Linked DNA regions of Homo sapiens: all the other regions are linked to region 2. Evidence: promoter capture Hi-C in 16 types of primary human blood cells and fetal thymus (Javierre and others, 2016). All regions are on one chromosome and are shown on one strand. Each heading gives the region's core, a stretch centred on a gene start or on the middle of the fragment in contact. The rest is flanking DNA. Distances are from core to core; before and after follow the strand shown. Region 1 has its middle 99 kb from the start of TMEM17. Region 2 holds the start of FAM161A (FAM161 centrosomal protein A). Region 3 overlaps USP34 (ubiquitin specific peptidase 34). Region 4 overlaps USP34 (ubiquitin specific peptidase 34).

Region 1 (2,700 bases), core at 101-2,600, 550 kb before region 2:
AGCAGCCCAAGGCAGAAACTAATGCAGGCTAATCACCGTGTCTTTCTTAAGCTAGCCTCGAAGGCATATGCCATCACTTCTGCTGTACTTGTGGGCCATGCAGACCGACCCTGATGCAATGTGGCAGGAGACCATTCAAGGGCCTGAAAACCAGGAGATCAGGATCACTGAGAAACTGGCTACAACAGGCTTTCAGTTCCCCTCCCAGAAGAATGTTCACCTGCGTACTGGCCCAGGTGTCAGCCAGGCTCAGGCACACACTGGAGAAGCCCCTCAGACTGAAAACCCAATGGGCTGGGGTGGGATTCAGTGCTGCTACCAACTGCCTCAGCCTGCCTCCTCGGTGAACACTGTACCCACTCAGAATCGGGCAAGACATCCCCATGGTGGAATAAGAGCTCTGAGCACTGGGTGGGAGAAGCATTGGCCTCTTGGGACCCTCTCTAAGACTGGGAAAGGAAGACTTCACACCAAAAAAATTCCTAAGAGAAAGAACAGAAGGGAAACAAGCGACTGTCAGTAGGTGGAGCTGGGGGGCGGTGGGGGCTGGAACTTGATGGGGTGGGGCACCTGCTGCAGGCTTCAGGGAGAAGATAGGGCCTGAGTTCAGTCCTGAGCACCAAACCTAGACATGATGAACTACAGTCAGCCTCCCAGTGATTCACGCTGTTTCATGCTCCCAGCCAGTGCCCACGCTGTCCTCTCCAGCAGGAATACCTCTCCCGGTTCCTCCCATTCTTCTTGACTCCATTATGTTCCTCCAGACTCAGCTCAAGGTGCTCCACCTCCAAGCTGTCTCTGACACCTTCCCATCAGATGCAGCTGTCTGCCTCCGTGTCTCAAAGCATCCTTACGCTTCCATCATGCTTGATATCATTGCTTCCTCCCCACTAGATTTTAACCTCCTTGAGGGCAGGTGATAATGTCAGACTCAAATCACATGGTGCCTAGCACAGTGCCTGTTGTGTACTCAGCAGTAAATATATGTTTGAGAAGGAAAGGAGGGAGAAGAGGAAGGAAGAGAAGGATGGATTCAGGAGACAGAAAATAACTCATCATCTATCTTTCTCCCCTTCATTCCCCAAGAGTGGGACTTCAAGCATTACCAGAGCTGTTAGCTAGAACCACTTCCCCCGTCCCCGCCATGTGAAAAATAAGCTGCACAGTCCTAGTCTGAGTTCTATAACATGCCGTTTGAGAAACAGCTTTTGGTTACTGAAAGCAGGCAACAAAAGTGGACGGGAGGAGTCTGTGTTCCCAGGATATGCTGACTTTGCTGGAGAAACCTGAGGTTAATAACAGATGGAAAGCACCCCATGGTAACAATCTTTGTGGGAAAATCTTGTGACCATCAAGTTCCCTGAAAGCAGTCAGCAGTGCCTCAGGAAGACCGAATTTCTGTGAGTAAAGTGACTCAAGGCCATGACATGGGGTCACCCCAGAATGAGATCAGTCTTTTAGAAGTAATCACCAGGGACTGAAGGTTCCGGGTCACCTGATTTCCCCTGGAGTTGCCTGAGGCCACCCTCTGCCCTCACTATCCAAACCTCACAGTGACCAACCTCTGCCACCTCTGGGTGCATATTAGACCTCTGGGTAGCCACAGCCACTCCCTTGAGTTCTGTTTCCACTTCTGTTAAACATTAACTGATGTATTGTTTTGGTTTAGTTTTTTTCTGCTTGCAAAGACTTCATGTGCCCAAAATGAATTAGCCATACTTCTTGGTTCAAGGCATGGCGTCTTTGTTGGTATGCGCTGGACTCAATTGTATTTTAGTTAACCTTATTTTTTGGCCCCCTTCAGCCCATCCCCAATCTCGTTTTTCTCCTCTTACCACAGGACCCATTCCCGTGATTTTTGTGTGTCTTCCCTCCCAATCTGTAGTTTGATTTGCACGCAGGTCTGAGATTGGTGTTATTTTGCGCATATTTTTAAAATATGTGGGCCGGGCACCGTGGCTCATGCCTGTAATCCCAGCACTTTGGGAGGCCAAAGCGGGCAGATCACGAGGTCAGGAGATCGAGACCATCCTGGCTAAAATGGTGAAACCCCGTCCCTACTAAAAATACAAAAAATTAGCCAGGCGTGGTGACACACGTCTGTAATCCCAGCTACTCGGAAGGCTGAGGCAGGAGAATCGCTTGAACCTGGGAGGCAGAGGTTGCAGTGAGCCAAGATCGCACCACTGCACTCCAGCCTGGGTGACAGAGCGAGACTCCGTCTCAAAAAAAAATAAAATAAAATAAATAAAATAAATAAAAATATGTGTAAGTGGTCTTTGGTATACATCTCATTCTGCTTCTCACCCTTTTCCAGTCAAAGTTATGTTTTTGAGATTGATCCAAGTGGATGTGACCAGAGCATTCCTTTTATCTGCTGAATTATTATCATCATTTGCATATAACACATTTTATCTATTTTCCTATTAGTAAATTTCTAGGTATTTTCAAATCGTCCCTATTACAAACAATTCTGCAATGGACATCCTCTTACATGTTTTGTAAGAGTTTCTCTGGGCTCAGTATCTAGGAGTGGATGGAACTGCTGGGTGGGAAGATCTGTCTGTATTTAGTTTCTCTTACTATTTCTAAACTTCTTCCCAGAAAGGTTATACTGGATGACATTCCCAGAGGGTTTCTGTTTTCCTTCACCTTTGGCAGTACTTGATATTATCCAAGTTTTTAATATTTGCCAATCTG
Region 2 (2,700 bases), core at 178-2,677:
GTGGTGGTGGTGGTGAGACGGAGTCTTGCTTTATTGCCCAGGCTGGAGTGCAGTGGCGCCATCCCGGCTCACTGCAACCTCCGCCTCCCGGGAGTGCGCCTGTAATCCCAGCTACTCCGGAGGCTGAGGCAGTTTTGTAGCCACAAAACTGGCTGCCGTGTCTGACTGGAAATTGCTCCCCTGGAAACTTGGCCACACCTGGCGGTGCATATCTCATGGTTCTGGCTCTGGCTTCTGCTTAGAACCCAGTCAGCATCTGTTCCAGCATGGGAAGCAACTGTTCAGCTAAAACCAAGAGCAGCCTGAAGGAAGTGGGGACGTAGGAGACTTTGTAGGTGCTCACACCCAGACAGGAGAACAAAGGTTTGGTAAGGGCTCAGACCTTAGAGACGGGTTCTCGACGATGTGCAGCGCATAACGAGGAAAATACTGACCGGAGGGGGCCGGTCGTAGGGCTGGGGAGCAGGAGGAGGGCAAAGGATAGAGAGGGGGTAGATAGGGAGTAGATAGGGGGCGGCAGCCTCGGCCTCAGTAAGCAGGGGCTCAGGGAGCAGATGTCTGAGACTGCACCACGTCCGCTATTTTGAGGTTTGGCTTCTCTTACTGCCACGTGGTGCAGAGGGAAGGCGCCATTTGATGCGTCCAAATCCCGAGTGGGAAGAGAAGATACGGATGAGGGAGATGGATGTGTCTGTGGTGACTCTTGGGCACTTGTGCCGTTCAATCCTGTCACTCTCAAGCTGAAGAACCCAAAGCAAACGCCAGGTTTACAATACCTGCACTATCACTCATTAGTGGGAGGGTCAGGCGCCACCCAACTCTGGGCTTTTATTGGTCATGTCAAGAAAAAAGCGAGAGGGACAACTGGGAGCCTCCTTCTGATTGGTGGATTCCTGCTAGCCCTCAAGTCAATCAGAGTAGAATGTACCGCCCTCCTTCCCACTCTGGCCCCCGCGGGAGACATGTTAGGTAGCGGGACGCCAACCTTGTCACTCTTCTGAGACCGCCACCCAGTAACACGCCCTGCTTTCCTCCGCCGCCGCCGTCTCCTCCATCAACTGTCTCCTTCTAACATGTTATTGCAGTTAATAAAAAAGCGTTCTTTTCTTCACAAAAGCAGTTGTTTCATTGTATAATGTGAGAAGTCTGCGTTCAGGCGGTTAGACGCAAAGGAGTGGAATAAGTGCCCTGTTCAGCCTGCCAACCTTCGGAACCAGCCAACAGACTCGGTACTGACTGCCATGATCCAGTAAGCACCCGACTCGGGTCTCTGGCAGCCTGAGTGGATTTTGCGTGACTTTTGGTCCCTGGCGGCTCCTGTAGCGTCCCCAGTTACGGCGCCCATAGCAACCGGCTCCCTAGCTAGGCGCCCCCGGGTTGCCAGGGGCCGCACCAGCTTTCCCGTCCCGGGCCAGCGCAGGCGCTCAGGCCTCGGAGGCGGGGCGATGGCCACCTCCCACCGAGTGGCGAAGCTGGTGGCCTCCAGTCTCCAGACCCCGGTAAATCCCATCACTGGAGCGCGGGTCGCCCAGTACGAACGCGAAGACCCCTTAAAGGCCCTGGCGGCAGCGGAGGCGATCTTGGAGGACGAAGAGGAGGAGAAAGTGGCTCAGCCCGCTGGGGCATCGGTAATACTGGGGCGGGACTTGGGCTGGGACCTCGCATGGGCTGGGTGCAGGCTGAGGGCTGTCCGGTTCCCCGCCCAGCTGAGGGCAGGCTGGTAAACGCGGGTCCCTGTGCACATAGTCCCTACTTGGTGGTCCTGGCCCAGCCCCTTCTCTACGCTCACGAAAATTACTCTAAATCGAGGCGTTGAAAAGTGTTTTAATTTTCACCAGTCTGTTGTAAAAGCTTCCTAGACAACATTTATGTTACTCTGCTTCTGGCAAGTGCAAAGTATAGAATTTTACTCTCTACTCTCCAGCATCTCGGGAATGGATATATAGAGATATATCTGGCTATATATAGTAATTTGAGGAAAACTGTTCTGTCAGGTGTGTTTCGTTATTACCTTAAGATCTTGGTTATAAGCGGATCTCAACATAGTGCTCTAAAGATGTGTGTTTAAAACCATCACGTGTTCACTGGCTAAATCAGACACGGATACAGATAAGCAAATCACTGAGGTTTCAGTGTTTCCTAAACAGCTCTTTAGGGTACAGCGAGACGGCCTTTTCACTGATCAGTTTTCATTGTTAAATCTGTTGTGGACACCAGTCCAGCAGGTAGAGGGCAGGGTCTGCCATCTGCTCAATTCACTTAAAAGATGGGAATCTTGGCCGGGCGCGGTGGCTCGTGCCTATAATCCCAGCACTTTGGGAGGCCGAGGTGGGCGGGTTACGAGGTCAGGAGTTCGAGACCAGCCTGACCAACATGGTGAAACCCCGTCTGTACTAAAAATACAAAATTTAGCCGGGCGTGGTGGTGCGCCCCTGTAATCCTAGTTACTCGGAAGGCTGAGGCAGGAGAATCGCTTGAACTTGGGAGGTGAGGGTTGCAGTGAGCTGAGATCTCAGACCCAGTCTCAAAAAAAAAAAAAAAAAAAAAAGATGGGAATCTTGAATTTAAACTAGCAATCTGCAGATAGAAAAAATTTCCTAATACCATGTGTCCAAAGCTTCTCAGACACCAAACTTATGATTGAGGACTAACTGAAATCACTGGATATTTTGGAATTCTGATCTCTTTAATCTACAGTAA
Region 3 (2,700 bases), core at 75-2,574, 520 kb after region 2:
GGCTGAATTTCTATAAAAAGAATTACTAAAATTATTTTGTGAATGTTTCTGCTGTTTCAGATCAGTAGTAATTTCACTTCGTCTTCTTCCAAAACTATTTGGTACTTTTCAGCAGTTTGGGAGCAGTTACGATACACACTGGATAACAATGTAAGTAAATAAAAGAAAAAAGTATTTATTTTAAAGATTTTTTTCTAATTATAGTTATCTAAAGGTTTTGACTAACCTACAAGCTTTTACTCTGTACCAGGAAAATTTGAGTTTCATGTGGTTTGTTTTCTTAGATTTTTCTGCCACTTACCCCTGTAGAGATTATATCCTGATCAGTAGGAAAATCTGTGTTTTGTTTTCTTTGGAGTTTGAGAACAGTACTTTAGCAATTAATACTCTAATTTTAGGGAGATTTTTAGCGTATGCAGCTACAGCAGAGTACTTTTGAAGAAGAGCCACACTAAAGTAAACTCTGGCATGCCTTTAATTTTTCCCATTTCTAGGAATTGGCTGTAGACCTAATGTCATGTTTGGGGTAATCTTGACACTACCTTATTACAGGTTGAGTATGCCTAATCTGAAAAATCTAAAATCTGAAATGCTCCATAATCCAACATTTTTGGAGCATCAGTAGGACACTCAAAGGAAATATTCATTGGAGCATTTTGGAATTTGGATTTTTGGATTAGTTATGTTCAACTGCTATGCATTCTGCGAATATTACGGAATCTGAAAAAATTTGAAACACTTCTGGTCTCCAGCATTTTGGATAAGGGATATTCAACTAGTTACTCCATTTATGGAGAACTTATGATTAATGAATGTTACAATAATTCTTCCAGAGGTAGAACTTTTATGTGAAATCGACCCCATGTTTTGGTAATAAGTCTAGAGAAAGTTGTCTACCACAAACAATACATTAAGAAGATGTGTTGTATGCTTTATTCTAAATAAGCTTTTGGAGAGATTTCGGAGACATTTGAATTTTAGGGAAAATTCGACTTGTTGAAGGATTCATTTGTGAGATCAAGTTCTCAATTCTAAGCTTAGGTGGTAAGAACACTTGCTTGCTTTCACAGTGGAGTATCACTTTTATAGTTCTTGGAAGTCTGCACTATAATTCCAGATTAGATGAAGTTAATTCTTCTGAGTCATATACCTTGCTTCTAATTGTTCTTTTAAAGGGAATATGTTTAATCTGGACCTTTATTATTATTTAGAAGTATCTTAGTCTCTTTCTTTGGTTAATACTACAGTAAGAATCCAGTGAAGGTTCTGTTTTTGCAAGGAAGGTCCTTCAGCTTCCAAAAGGAGGGGTAAGGGAAAGCATTTAACATCACTGAAGAACAAGAATAGTGTGAGCCATTTTTCATTGCCTCTTTCTATAATTTTTAAGTGGCTGAATTTCAAAATTCTAATGCAGTAAAGGCAGTCATTTGGTGCTAACACGGGCGAGCAGGTGTCATTATAGTCAGTGGAGGTGGTTCATATTAAGGAGTAACTTTCTTGTATAGAAGGGGCAGTCTCTGAATATTCAGTTACTTAATCAAGTACCCGAACCTAAATATATTGAGTTGAAACTCTTTTAGCTTGTTCCTTAAATTAAATGTAAATAAGCTTAATTAAGGAAAATTCACAGGGTTTCCATTACCACAAGAGATTGGTATCCTAAATCTCATAAACTACATCACTTAAAAGAACTCCTGTGGTTATTTGACATCAGTAACAACAAAAGCTGTCATTTATTGTGAGTCTAGTATGTATAGCAGCACTTAATATTTAGTACATATTATCTCTTAAACTCGTTCTAATGGCCCATAGTTTAAAATTGGAAACTTACCCTTGATTCTTCTAATAAACCTTCAAGCAAACAGACTTCCACAAGACAGCTTACTTGCCTGAAGCTGTGTTGTAGCAAGTGTATTGGAGCTGCCTTCAAACCCAAAGTCTTTTTCTTTCTACCACTTGACCTTTATTTAGTGAATAGCAAGGTGAAAGTAACTTCTGTTTAAAATATGGCTATAACAGAAACACGATGTAAATTACATGGAACTTAGAGAATTTTAATACTTCTACATCTGTACATTTTAGCAGATAAATTGCTAATAGGTGTTATATGAAATACATTATGTTAATTATGGAAGTTATGGACCCTGGGATCTCTGAATGTATATGCCACTATTTGTGTTTTCATTGTAGTATTTCTACATTATTTTGGAACTCAGTGCTGGGTATTTCTTTGATTTTTTTAAAAAAAATTTTGTTCAAAAATATAAGCAAATTAATGACAAAAGATATATGCAGTAAGTTTATTGTATGCCTTCTGTATGCCAGATATTGTGCTAAGTAATGACCAAAGCACATAGTATATTCTTATATGAAAGGGTATCATATTACTTTTAATATTAACTCAAATTAGTCATTGATAATAGTACTTTCACAGGCATTTTGAGATTAAAAACTTACAAAGGTACTTTAAATTCATAAAAATGAAGGAACATTGCTTTATATCTTTTCACCATTCAAATATAAATAAAACGTGTATATTTTTCGTAACTAAAATTTTACATTTGAAGATTTTTTTTAGATTTGCATATTTACTGTCATAGCATAGATTTATTCTCTTACCCTGCCCACTTTAAAATTATTTTTTCTTTTATTTGGGCCAGGTGGGCAGAAAAAGAACTGAACATGATGAAGCTTTTCTTT
Region 4 (2,700 bases), core at 66-2,565, 550 kb after region 2:
GCTGAGGCATGAGAATCGCTTAAGCCCAGGAGGTGGAGGTGTTAGTGAGCCGAGATCATGCCATTGCACTCCAGCCTGGGCGACAGAGCGAGACTCCTCAAAACAAAACAAAACAAAAAAACTACCAAAGTATTAATGGCTCACACTGTAATCCCAGCACTTTGGGAGGCCGAGGCGGGCAGATCACGAGGTCAGGAGATAACACCATCCTGGCTAACATGGTGAAACCCCATCTCTACTAAAAATACAAAAAATGAGCCAGGCGTGGTGGCAGGCGCCTGTAGTCCCAGCTACTTGGGAGGCTGAGGCAGGAGAATGGCGTGAACCCAGGAGGCGGAGCTTGCAGTGAGCTGAGATTGTGCCACTGCACTCCAGCGTGGGCGACAGAGCGAGACTCTGTCTCAAAAAAAAAAAAAGTTTAATACAGAATTTCTGTCCATCCAGTAGCCAAAGCTTTTCCTAATGAATACGCTGCTTCATAAGCATTTACTTTTCTTCTGGTTTTGTATAATACAAAATGATTTGAATAAAGTAAAATACACTATAAAATGGTATCGCTATTAGATTATTCAGTTATAATTTGTGAGCAACATGATGAATAGGACACTAAATCAAGTATATAATAGCAATTTTAAGATGTTACGATATTCTGGCTGGGCCGTGGTGGCTCATGGCTGTAATCCCAGCACTTTGGGGGGCCGAGGCAGGCGGATCACCGGAGGTCAAGAGTTCAAGACCAGCCTGGCCAACATGGAGAAACCCGTCTCTACTAAAAATACAAAAATTAGTTAAGTGTGATGGTGCACGCCTGTAGTCCCAGCTATTCAGGAGGCCGAGACTGGAGAATTGCTTGAACCCAGGAGGCGGAGGTTGCAGTGAGCTGAGATTGAGCCACTGCACTCCAGCCTGGGTGACAGAGTGACACTCCGTCTCAAAAAAAAAAACTTACAATAATATGAGGTCTTTGTAAAATGTGAGAATAAAACTTTTGGAGATAAGCGAACATCTGAGTAAATTGAAATAGCATGTCTCTGTACAGAATATTGTAAAGATGTTAGGTAAATTTATTTTTTAAAATGTTCTATCAGTAATTCCAATGTAATTTTTGTTTAAAATTTGATGAAATTACTGTGAAGTTATCTGTATGAATAAACTAAGCAATATTATAAGTTCTGGGAGGTCAGTAAATTGGCACTTTATGAAAAAAGAAAAAACAAAAAAGTCCTGGGAGAAAAATTCAAAAGGATAATAGAAAGTTGAACTTCCGTACTAGCTGTATAAACATTAAACCATAATTTGATTTTGGTATGGGAATTGTTAGTTAAATGATATAGAATGGATACTGAAAATTAGTCATATATGACTTGTTCAGTTTGGGGAAAGAAAAACCCCTTTTTCTAATATTTAGGATATGTTTAAAATGTTGTATCTGTGTTAACAATGGTAGGAAAATTTAGAAGAAAATAGGATTGAACGTTTGTCAAACCATTTTGAGGGCCAAGATTGAGGGCTAGAAATAATGAGAAAGGGAAAGAATCATAGATTTAGCTACACAATGATTAGCAATTTACTTATAAAAAAATTGTGCTTAAGGCAAATTGCCAATATGACTCGTCTTGGAAGAAAAACATATTCCTTCTGTGTTTGAAATATTTTTCCACAAACCTTTTTTATTATGTGAAGGGAAAGGTAATTTTAAAATGTTATGTGTCATTATGAAAAGCGATAGCCTTACCCCACTCATTTTTCTTGAAAGTAATTGTTTAGTGTCTGTTCAGTGGAGTTTTTCTATATTGAATGAAGTTTAGCAATATTTTTAAAGTTTAAATTATTCATCAGACATTTAATTTTGCTTAATTTTCCTGCTCTAATCATTTTTTTTCCCGAAAAAGTTGTACATTATACAATACTTAATTTGAATGTCTTCTCCATTTTAGTGCCTGGCATGCATGTGTGAATAAAACACCTCTGCCCTTGTGGAACTGGGAATTTGTCAGTCTTCCTTTCCTTTTCCCTTTCCTTTTTTTCTTTCTTTCTTTCTTTCCTTTTTCCTTTCCTTCCCTCTCTTTTTTCTCCTCACCCTCCCATCCCTTCCCAGATAACAAATATGAGGTGTTAACAAGTGCTTTAAAGAAAGATAAAGGAGAGTAAAGGGTTAATGGTGAAGTGAAGCTTTTAGATTGGGCGGTAAGGAAAAAGCTCCCATTGGATGAGAGACTTGAAAGAGGTGAGAAAATAAGTATCTTGAATTCCTGGAGAGAAATCTTAGTCCTTGAGTTGGTAATATACTTGTTATTTTCAAGAAAGGGCAAGGAGGCCAGTTGGCTGAACATAGTGTGAGATAGGGAAGATGGTGGGAAATGAAGTTGAAGGTGTAGGCAGCTAAAAGGACTTAATGCATTCTAGAAATAACTATCCTCAATCTACTGAGTTTTCTGTCTTTACCTTAGATTACATTTAAACTTAACATACAGTGTGTTTAATTGCTACAACTACATATTCTTATCAGCAAGTAAGTTAATTCTTAAAAACAAATTCATTTCCATGTTTTGCTGTTTTTAAGGAGGCCTCATGGGACCTGTCAGGATGATTTCATCTGGACACGAGTTAACAACAGATTATGATGAAAAAGCACTTCATGAGCTTGGTTTTAAGGATATGCAGGTACATATATAAAACGTGGTTTGAGTTTTAATGATC

The links. The method cuts DNA at HindIII sites, captures the fragments that hold promoters and counts their contacts. A CHiCAGO score of 5 or more calls a contact.
Region 1: a contact is called between a fragment that was not itself captured here and the fragment with the promoter of FAM161A in region 2, in 3 of 17 cell types (neutrophils, non-activated CD4 T cells and total CD8 T cells). The highest score is 6.3, in neutrophils.
Region 3: a contact is called between a fragment that was not itself captured here and the fragment with the promoter of FAM161A in region 2, in 1 of 17 cell types (naive CD4 T cells). The highest score is 5.9, in naive CD4 T cells.
Region 4: a contact is called between a fragment that was not itself captured here and the fragment with the promoter of FAM161A in region 2, in 1 of 17 cell types (total CD8 T cells). The highest score is 5.6, in total CD8 T cells.

Annotation. Positions count from the first base shown.
Region 1 is chr2:62,405,573-62,408,272 of GRCh38, reverse strand. No RefSeq gene overlaps it. Among named protein-coding and RNA genes, the nearest start is that of TMEM17, 99 kb to the left of the region's middle. RefSeq lists an enhancer at 116-165. The HindIII fragment of the contact is 8,957 bases long and covers 1-2,700 here.
Region 2 is chr2:61,852,787-61,855,486 of GRCh38, reverse strand. FAM161A (FAM161 centrosomal protein A) reads left to right here and starts at 1,427. Exons shown (of 7, transcript NM_001201543.2): 1 at 1,427-1,628. The coding sequence starts at 1,446. RefSeq lists enhancers at 234-283, 1,024-1,253, 1,494-1,653, 1,814-1,943. The HindIII fragment of the contact is 5,666 bases long and covers 1-1,853 here.
Region 3 is chr2:61,331,332-61,334,031 of GRCh38, reverse strand. It overlaps USP34 (ubiquitin specific peptidase 34), which reads left to right. Exons shown (of 80, transcript NM_014709.4): 19 at 61-150; 20 at 2,661-2,700. Among named protein-coding and RNA genes, the nearest start is that of SNORA70B, 85 kb to the left of the region's middle. The HindIII fragment of the contact is 572 bases long and covers 1,039-1,610 here.
Region 4 is chr2:61,301,318-61,304,017 of GRCh38, reverse strand. USP34 (ubiquitin specific peptidase 34) reads left to right here. Exons shown (of 80, transcript NM_014709.4): 28 at 2,564-2,664. Among named protein-coding and RNA genes, the nearest start is that of SNORA70B, 110 kb to the left of the region's middle. The HindIII fragment of the contact is 1,719 bases long and covers 456-2,174 here.